Regions from separate parts of the Homo sapiens genome. Here regions 2 and 3 are each linked to region 1. Evidence: promoter capture Hi-C in human tissues and cell types (Jung and others, 2019). All regions are on one chromosome and are shown on one strand. The core of a region is centred on a gene start or on the middle of the fragment in contact, and the rest is flanking DNA. Distances in the headings are between cores, read along the strand shown. Region 1 holds the start of ROBO1 (roundabout guidance receptor 1). Region 2 has its middle 140 kb from the start of ROBO1. Region 3 has its middle 160 kb from the start of ROBO1.

Region 1 (3,342 bases), core at 382-2,881:
ATATTTGAGTAGTGGGAGCTCCGACTCGAGGCAGGAGTGGGATGTCTTAGCATTCCGTCTCCCCCACCCCACCCATCTGCGTGGGACACAGTGACTCCTAGAAGGGTATCCCAGGATTTTAGCGGCCAGGTGTGAGCGCCCTCCACGCGGTCCTCCGAGACCTCAGGGCGCGTGGCAACTGGGCAGAAGCCGTCTCTGCAGCGCCGCTGCCCCGGGTGGAGCGGCAGCCCAGGCTGCAGCAGTGGGGTTGCCACGCCGAGTTTTCCGCATCGGCCGCCCGCAGGGCTCGCCTGCTTCTCCCCATTGTGTTCTCAGAGCTGTGGGACCCAGCCGCGCGCGCAGCCGCACCCGCGCCAACGCTGGAACCGAAGGCTCATGGAAGCGGGGCTGGCAAGATGGGGCAGGGAGAAGGAGCAAGAAGGGGCCCCAGAAGGGCACGGCGTTTCATCAATAATGCAGAGGCTCCTGGACCTCCCTGCAATACGTTTTCCAGCTAAACGCCACCAACTGGAGCGCTTCCTGGTTCGTCCCACTCGTGTGGTTTTTGTGTGTGAAAGATGGGACGCACCTTTTTCATTCATCTGTCTTCTCTCATTCTTCCTCCTTCCCTCCCTCATTTCCTCCCTCAAAGTCCCCGCTGGCTTAGCTTTAAGCTCTCGTCTTCACATCAGCACCATGTTTTCAAGCAAAATCCTGCAGGTTGGAAATGCAAGTGTCAAAAGTCCCCACTGCCTACATACCGCCAAGAGTTTACCAAAATCCACCTAGTAACGCTTATTTTCAAAGCCCCCACGCGCATCCATTCCTGGAGAATGCTTTCAAAGTTTGGAAGCTCCCTGCAGCCTGCCCGTGTCTATGCCTCAGTCAGCTCACATCACGAACAACGGTGCGGTCAGCGGCACTGAGATTAGGCTGCAAAGTTGCCCGGCCCCAGCCCACTACACCGCTGATGCTCGCCGCATCCCTAGAGCAAATTCCGCTGTGTGCCCCCAAGAAGCCAAAAGCGGCACGAAACCTACTCCAACAAGGGTTAGCCCAGCCACACACACAACAAACAAATTCCAAAACTTCTTTGTTAAGCAGCCGCAGCCTACCTGGAACGGACACTCTGCACAACTGGCAAGGAAGAAACAAACATCGCATCCCTGCAGGAAAACTTGTTGAATCCCTCCCGATCGCAAGGCTGCAATTTCCGATTTAGCCTGAAGGTTTTTGATTCTACCCCAAAACACCCTGGCGCATCAGCCACAATTTCTGGATAAACTGCAGAGTCCTCTCGGCAACCATTCTGCACTCCAACAACCACTAGTGTAAAACCCAGCGTGTCCCCTTTTACAAATCAAAAGCCAGCTGTCACTTCCCTTGCAACCATTTCCGAGACTTACCCTTCCATAAGACTGTTTTCAGCAATCTAGAGGCTCCGTAGTGCAGACGCAGCCCTGCAACTTTGCTGTGCACTGAGACCTTTCCGAGTTTAAACCAAGCGAAAGGTGACAGACTTTTAAACCTAAGAGTGGGGAAATAGGGAGAGAGTGAAGTCGGGTTTCTTCTCTGTATCAGCACCCTGGAAAAATTCAATCCTTCTTCAGTAGAGAATTCTTTCAAACCCGTTATCTGTATTACTATTAATGCGCAGAGCAGAAGGCATTGCATACAAATAGGTCCAAGTGTGCGCTTCTATTGGTGGCTGCGGAGGCCCCTGGGTCCTACTGCTCCGGTCTAAACTACACAGCAACACTAGGCACGCAGCTTTGGAGACGCCGAGGGGAAAATGGATTTAATTGATTCGTTACCTCTGGTATTGTAATGCCTGCTGCGATGTTTAACCGAGGGGGGAGGAAAAAAAAAAAAAAAAACCCTTACATTTAACTCCTGTCATGTGATCTATCATTCCATAGCTGCTTTTAATTGTCTGTGTGGAGTGGCTTTGATCATACAAAGGATTTTAAAAGAACATTTTCGAAGGAAAATTCACACAGACACTTTTGGCAGGAAAACCCTCTTTTGCTCTCTATTATGCATTATTCTCATATAAATCCAGGAAATTTTATATAATCAAATACTTCTGCACTTCACGTAGGTACACACAACACCCAATTGTATTTACAATTCATAGCTACTACAAATAAAATACCTTACATGGGTAGTAGATAGTAGAAGCTAAAATATGAGTCTACCAATTATAAAACACGGGTTATATTAGTCAAATGCTACAGAAAAAATTCCATCAATGACAATGGCGTCAGCATCATTTTTACTTCGCAAAATTAGAAATTCAAAAATATTTTCCTTGTAAATATTGACATAAAGATATAAATCAACATAAAGGTATTATAATGTCACAGTATGTCAAGCATTTACTATTAATTGCTACATTATCTTTTTACAGTTTCTCTCTTAGCAAGTTCATTAGTAATGCAAATTGGCATAACAAGGAGATTTAAAGTGAGGCCGACCTGTGGTGACTAGCAATTTGAAATATTGTAATAGTGTGCAAAATCACTTTAGTTCATCATCGGTAAAGCCAGTTATTTTAAGAATTAGAATATTAAATGCTGAATCTTAATATATATTAATTTGAAGTCTTAAACATGCTGTTTTCTTTGACCTTTAATTTTGTGGAGGAAAAGAGAAATCCTTATTTAAACTAAAATGACATAGACTTTCCACAAAATCCTAGATACGATATTTACTGATATTATAATTTAGGAAGTAACATAATTTTATTGTCTTTGATGTAAATAATTGTGATAAATTCCAATTTAATTACAAAATTATTACATATATGTAATGTACAACTGAATGAACATTGTTGGAAAGGGCCACTCTGGATAAGGTTAACATCAACCAACCTATAAATTCACTACCTATGTGTAAACTAAATAAATGAAAACACAATGCAAAAATACAACAGACTCGAGATCTTATTCCAAATACATGTAAAGCATTTGAATTTATGTAGTGTGTGCTACAATCCCTCTTCATTTCCGTAACTCTTTCCCTTTACAGCCCCTTCCCTTCCCCCAATCAGTAACCCTTGACAACAGAAGTGTTAACTTCAAGTCCAGGTTGCCTTTGCTGCCTTCCAGACCTAACTTACAGATTGCATCCTTGTAGGAAACAGAGTTAACTCTTACACGACTGAGAGGTGAAAGAAGAGAGTTTCTTTCAGGGATTAGAAAATCCAGTATTTTTATGTGTATTTGCAAAGTTTGCACCAAACACATATTTTTAAAAATATCCATGATCACTAATTCAGAGTGAAAAGATGTGATCATTGGCATTGTATCAGAGTCAATTTGCTGTATATATCCATTGCTATTGTGTCACTGAAATAGCTTT
Region 2 (3,158 bases), core at 110-2,609, 140 kb after region 1:
AAATAATTTAGTGTATTTCTCTTCATTTAAATGTTTAAGCTTGCAAAACCTTTACAAATAAGAGAGATTGTTACTTTTTGAAAAATATGACTCATGGTCAAGCGTATATTATTAAAAGTAAGAACACCCAACTTTGCAGCTTGTCTAATCAAGTGCGTGGTTACTGGCTAACCCTGTCTTTGGCTTGAGTACACCACCTAAAGGCTTTCAATTTCATCTCCCAAGTTCCCTTAAAGGCCTTCCAGTTAGAAGAAGTTTCTTTTAATTTTTATTTTTTCATTATTATACTTTAAGTTCTAGGCTGAGCAAAGTATCCCAAGGACAGAAAACCAAACACTGCATGTTCTCACTCATAGGTGGGAATTGAACAATGAGAACACTTGGACACAGCATGGGGAACATCACACACCGGGGCCTGTCGCGGTTAATTCCTAAGTGAAACCAGGAAACACCGCATTTACTTTTCTCAAAAATACCTTGCTCTTTTTTATTAGCTTTGGTGTTCGCTCATGTCTCTTCTTTATGGAATTCATTTTACTGCACATTTTGGTGGTAGCTAACACCACCTCTTCCTTCAAGATGCAAAGAAGCACTTCTACAATGCCAGATTAACTACCCCTCTCATTTACAGGCTCCTGGGATAAATCCATTGCTCCCACTCCATCGCTCTTCACCAAGCCATGCTGCACTTGACTGCTCACTCACATACTGCCTAGATACCTCCTGCTTTGCACGCATATTCATTCTTAAGCCATTGTGTATGTTCTAAGTTTTCATCGTTTCTTCCCAAATACACTGAATATATAACAAATGAATCTTAATCATATTCTTCAAATATGATAAAAATAGTTATATCTTGTATTATTATAGATATACTCATTAACTAAAAATTATTCTCTCTGTTTAATTTTCAGTTCCATTAAAGATTTAAAGGTATCACAATAGACACCCAGGGCTCTCTGCAATCTAGTGCTTTTCCTAGTTTTCAATTTATGAAGCTTGCTGGATTTAAGACAAAGATTTTACCTGTCAGAGATAAGATATGGAACATAAACATAAAACCAATGCAGTAAATTTTCATAAAGCTTAATTCATTCTAAAAATACTTAAGATTATTTTCTCTGTAAATTTGTAGGTTGCTATTACTTTATTAAAAAAAGCTCGACACAGAAAAAAAGATGATAGTTTTCCAATGATTTTTACTTGGAAAGAGAAAATAAAATAACATTGAGAAACAAAACAGCCTTCATCTGTGGAGCATTCCAATTTTTGTTCTTGTTGCTGTCGAAATATCCCTGGCCCCTGATTTCCAGCCCTGAGAAGGGTTTTTCTGGAGCAGATGCTAAATTTTACTCCTGGAGATGAATTTTTGTGGATCCAATCGCAGGCAATATATCTAAAGCATTTGTTTAGAAGTAGATCTCTAAGTGATAAATACATGAACGTGACTAGGAAAAAATACCTTTCAAATAATTTGCACTGTGTAGAGTTGTAATATGAATCTTGTTTTCAAAATAAAACAGCAGTATCTTTTTCGCTCAAAATGAGTAATCTGTAGCCTTGAGGTTTATGTGAGGCAAGCTTGCATTCCAACACTATTCCTTGACTGAGGTCTCAGAAGTCCACTAGAGCCTTCCTAGCATTTGCATTAGACACGTTTGTGCCTTGCAGCCACTCAGGAGCTCAGTGAGAGAAAAGACATTATGATTATATGTTGGAGGAATAAAAAAGTAATATGAAGGATGGAAAAATACTCCGTAGATCCTAAGATAATACAAAGGAAAAGAAAATCCGTTTTCAAATATTAAGTAGCAAATTCAAGGAATATACAACTAAAAGTCATGTTGCACCATTTACGTTTTGCAATTAAAATGTTATTACCCTTTCTAAATTAAGATTTCTTTAATTATCATTCAGAACCAGGAATCCTTATATTTCATATTACAGAAGAGCAGTTTGTTCACTAAGATTGAGAGGAAATTGTAAGACATTTTTGAAGTAGTTCAACATACTGATATGTCTGGAAATTCACTAATGACTTATTTCAATTGATTTAGCTATCACTTCCTAACTATAAAATTATTGCTATGGCTAGATATTTAAGTTGAAGAGGGAAAACTTTGAAGAAAATTATTACCACTTAATATATAATATGATTTTTAAAGCCCAAAACCAAAGTATGGTTAAGGCAATATGTCTAATGTGCAGGAACTGAATTTACAGATTTAAGCCAATTAAATGCTTTTCTTAATTAAGTGTCAGGCAAAAGCAATGCACAGAACTTTTTCTTTAATTTAAAAACATCTTGATACCTCTAACAGTAAATATTTGTTGATTGATCTTAAAGTAATTTTAAAAATATTATTTCTTAGCACCATTATCATTATGACATTGTAAATAACTTGTTCCAGGTTTTAATTTTATTTACAGCTCTAATAAACATACTTTTAAATAAGTCATCCTGGGATATGTGCTTTGATCTAGGGCTGTGGCATTTATTCACATGTCTTCATTTAGTGCTCACAGTCTTTTTGCTATTTTTGTGCCTCCATCATCTCCAATCAAAGAGATTATTATAGCGTTGCTTCTTCAATTTCCAGCATCTGGGTTGCCTGATACCACTTTTTTTTTTTTTTTGGTAGAAACCAAAGTAATGAGGAGAAAAGTCCTCAAGATAGATTTACATCCTACAAGAATCATTTCATCTTATCAAAAACAGACTCTTTTTCCAATCCTTGCCTCCCTTCTGATAATTTCTTTTCCTCTGATGAATAGCTACTGGGGTGGATTAGAGGCAGCCAGTTATTTAAATGTAATAGTTTTTCTCCAATTTCTTCAGATTCCTATGGGCAACCCACAATTTATCTTAAGTCAAGAATTTTTTTTTTTTAATTTAACTCTCCACGTGGTGCTTTTGCTAATTATATCGTCCCTTGTCAATTCCCTCAAGGGGCTAACAGTCTAAGAAAAATAGAATATGAATTTTAGTAAAAAAAATTCAAACGTTATTTAATAAGGATAGAAATGTAAAAAGAATTTTAGGACAGAGTTAAGTTCATAATAAAGAGTTAAAAATGTTAACTAAGGAGAATTAGTCCCTGGACACAAAAGAATTTGCTTCTTTTTAACATTGGTAAGACATTTTTGTATTAGAGATT
Region 3 (3,016 bases), core at 281-2,780, 160 kb after region 1:
TTCTTCTTTCACTGGCATCTTTCTTTTTGTCCCAGTTCCATGGTGTCAGCATGTAGTCTTAAATATTGGCCACAATCTGATATTTTTACACATTAGTTTTTCTTTAGTGAAACAAAAGTAAAATTGCCTCAATGCTTTCCCACATTCTCCAACAATGCTTGTAAAGTGTACATTGACTATGGACATGTCCTTATACTTGGAGGTTAAGTATTTTAGAAAAGTGGAAGTGACAATGAGTCCATGAAAAAAATGAGTTAGAATTGTTAGAATTTTATTTTATTTATTTTTTTAGATTTTATTTATTTTAAGTTCTGGGGTACATGTGCAGGATGTGCAAATTTGTTACATAGGTAAACATGTGCCGTGGTTGTTTGCTGCACCCATCAACCCCTCACCAAGGTGGTAAGTCCTGCATGCATTACATAGATTTCCTGATGTTCTTTCTCCTCCCACCCCCACACAGGCCCCAGTGTGTGTTGTTCCCTCCCTGTGTCTATGTGTTCACATTGTGCAGCTCCTACTTACAAGAGAGAACATGCAGTGTTCGGTTTTCTGTTCCTGCTTTAGTTTGGTGAGAATAATGGCTTCCATCTCCATCCATGTCCATGCAAAGGACATGATCTCGTTCCTTTTATGGCTGCATAGTATTCCATGGTGTATATGTACCACATATTCTTTATCCAGTCTATCATTGAACATGTGCCTGAGGTCCCAGCTGCTTGGGAGGCTGAGATGGGAAGATCCCTTGAGCTCAGGAAGTTGAGAGTGCAGTGAGCCTTAAACAGGCCACTGCACTCCAGCCTGGGTAATAGAGTGAGATCCTGTCTTAAAAAAATGAATAAATAAAGTAAAAAAAAAAGAGGAAGAAAGTATTTGCTTAGGGTACCTCAATTGTTTCCTATTGTCCTGAGAATGTTAAGTCATTAAAAAATAGCAATGATTCACTATTATTGAGTTTAGATTAATGTTAATGATGTTATGGCTATAAAAACAATATCACTCAACTGTATTAATTATATTATGCATAAAGTGTAATCCAATGAACTCTCTAAAATAAAGATTGACCCTCAACTTCAAGATCAAAATTATCTTCCTTCCTTTATTCTGCCTACCCTACTTCCGCTTTCAAATGTGCATAATTTTTTACCAACAGTAATTTGAATTTTGTGGTCAAATGCATTCACTCAATTCTTTCAAAGTAGTCAAATTTGCTTAGATTTTATTCTCTCATCCCAAATTAAAAATTTTTTAGAGTTCTTATTTGCTACACTTCAAAATGTCTGGTTTTCAAAATATTGTGTCAATGGATTCTCAAAATCTATTTTACATATACATATGCCATATGTCCATTTATGTATATATCTGACCAAATTTGATTGTTCCAGTTGTACAATTTAAAAAATATATAACTCATTTTGATGCCTGTGACGACCTGTCTGGAGTGGCCACTGTGAGGGTGTCAGCTGTAGCAGAGGAGGCACAGCTGGGGCTGTGTGCTTCACGGTCCAGTGAGAGCCAAGAAAAAGTGAGAGCCCCACACCCTACCAGGTTGGTGGGGCAGGAGCCTGTGATCTTGGGCATAGCTGCAGCCACCCAGCCACAGCTCCAGACCCCAGCATCCCTGTGCTCTCAGGGGCTCAGGAAGCCCCTTGCCCCTGCAGGTTTGGAACTACCTGCTCCTGTTCCCTGGCCTCTCCCCACTCCCACTCCCCACTGCTTTGGGGTGGAGCCAAGTTGTGGCTGAACCTGGGTTCTGTCACAACACACCCAGGTGTGAGTGCACTCAGGATGGTGCCACCTTGGCCACCTCCACACTTTGGGCACTGATGAGCACAGGAAGGAGGCTGAGGGAGTGCTGAGGGTGGCTCAGTGTGGGCCTGCAAGCACCCTTCAGCATGAACAGCCTGAGTGTCATGGAAGGAGGCTGAGGGGTGGCTCAGGGTGAGCGTGCAAGCACTGCTCAGCATGAACAGTCTGGGTGTCATGGAAGGAGGCTGAGGGGGTGCTGAGAGCGGCTCAGTGTGGGCCTGAAAGCACATCTAGGCATGAACAGCCTGGGTGCTGTGGATGGCATTTTGATGGCAGCAGGAGGTAGACGGGCCCCTGGGCAGAAAAAGGCAGGTCCCTGGTGAAACCCTACCTTCAAGCCAGGGATGGCCTGAAGCCTAGAGGCCAGGCTGCCAGTTCTCCTTGGAGTCCATGGCACAGAGTGAGAGCTTATGGTGCTTTTTCCAGGCCCCCTCATGGCCACCCCTTGACCAATCAGTATGCATTTCCTCCCTTCAGAGCCCATAAAAACCCAGACTCAGCTAGACTCAGACAGACATTGGGACTACCAGCTGTGGGAAGGAGCTACCCACTTTGAGTCTCCACGACTGGAGATGACCTGCCTTTGGAAAGGAGCTACCTGCTAAATGTTTCCTCTCCACTGAGAGCTGGAAAGCTTTTTGGGACAACCTGCCTGTTGAAAGGAGCTACCCACTGTGGGTCTCCTGAGAGCTGTTTTGTTGCTCACTGAAGCTCCTATTTGCCTTGCTCACCTATCAGTTGCCTGCGTACTTCATTCTTCCAGGACGCAGGACAAGAACTTGGGACCAACCAAATGGATGGAATGAAAGAACTGTAACACAAACAGGGCTGAAACACTCTCTCCCACTCACCATGTTGTGGGCGAGGAGAAGGAGAGAAGCGATGTGGCCCTTTGGGGAGCCCATACTTAGGGGCTCCCTATACCAGGGCCATGACACCCTCTTTGGGGCTCTGCAGTTCCTGGTGTCTCCATGCCTCCAGGTGCCAAAGAGTTTCCCTCATCCAGATGCAGGTGCCCACAGCAGAAGCCGCATGCAGAACATCTGGTCCAGCCACAGCCTCACTCAGAGCCAGCACCTGTGCCAGCACCTGGAACTGCCCGCCCTACCACAGCAGCCAGCATGCCTGGCTGTGCCCTGTGGCTGGACCCCACACTCGCTAGCCCACACATCCCTCACTGCTCCACGCCTGGCTCGCCCTTGGCAGG

What was found. Contacts are between HindIII fragments. The study calls those that stand out against the background at their distance.
Region 2: a contact is called between a fragment that was not itself captured here and the fragment with the promoter of ROBO1 in region 1, in 2 of the 25 tissues and cell types used here (aorta and hippocampus).
Region 3: a fragment that was not itself captured here is called in contact with the fragment with the promoter of ROBO1 in region 1 in 2 of the 25 tissues and cell types used here (dorsolateral prefrontal cortex and pancreas).

What each region holds. Positions count from the first base shown.
Region 1 is chr3:79,766,367-79,769,708 of GRCh38, forward strand. ROBO1 (roundabout guidance receptor 1) reads right to left here and starts at 1,632. Exons shown (of 31, transcript NM_002941.4): 1 at 1,386-1,632. The HindIII fragment of the contact is 15,501 bases long and covers 1-3,342 here.
Region 2 is chr3:79,904,758-79,907,915 of GRCh38, forward strand. No RefSeq gene overlaps it. Among named protein-coding and RNA genes, the nearest start is that of ROBO1, 140 kb to the left of the region's middle. The HindIII fragment of the contact is 3,244 bases long and covers 1-2,981 here.
Region 3 is chr3:79,927,392-79,930,407 of GRCh38, forward strand. No RefSeq gene overlaps it. Among named protein-coding and RNA genes, the nearest start is that of ROBO1, 160 kb to the left of the region's middle. The HindIII fragment of the contact is 4,280 bases long and covers 1-3,016 here.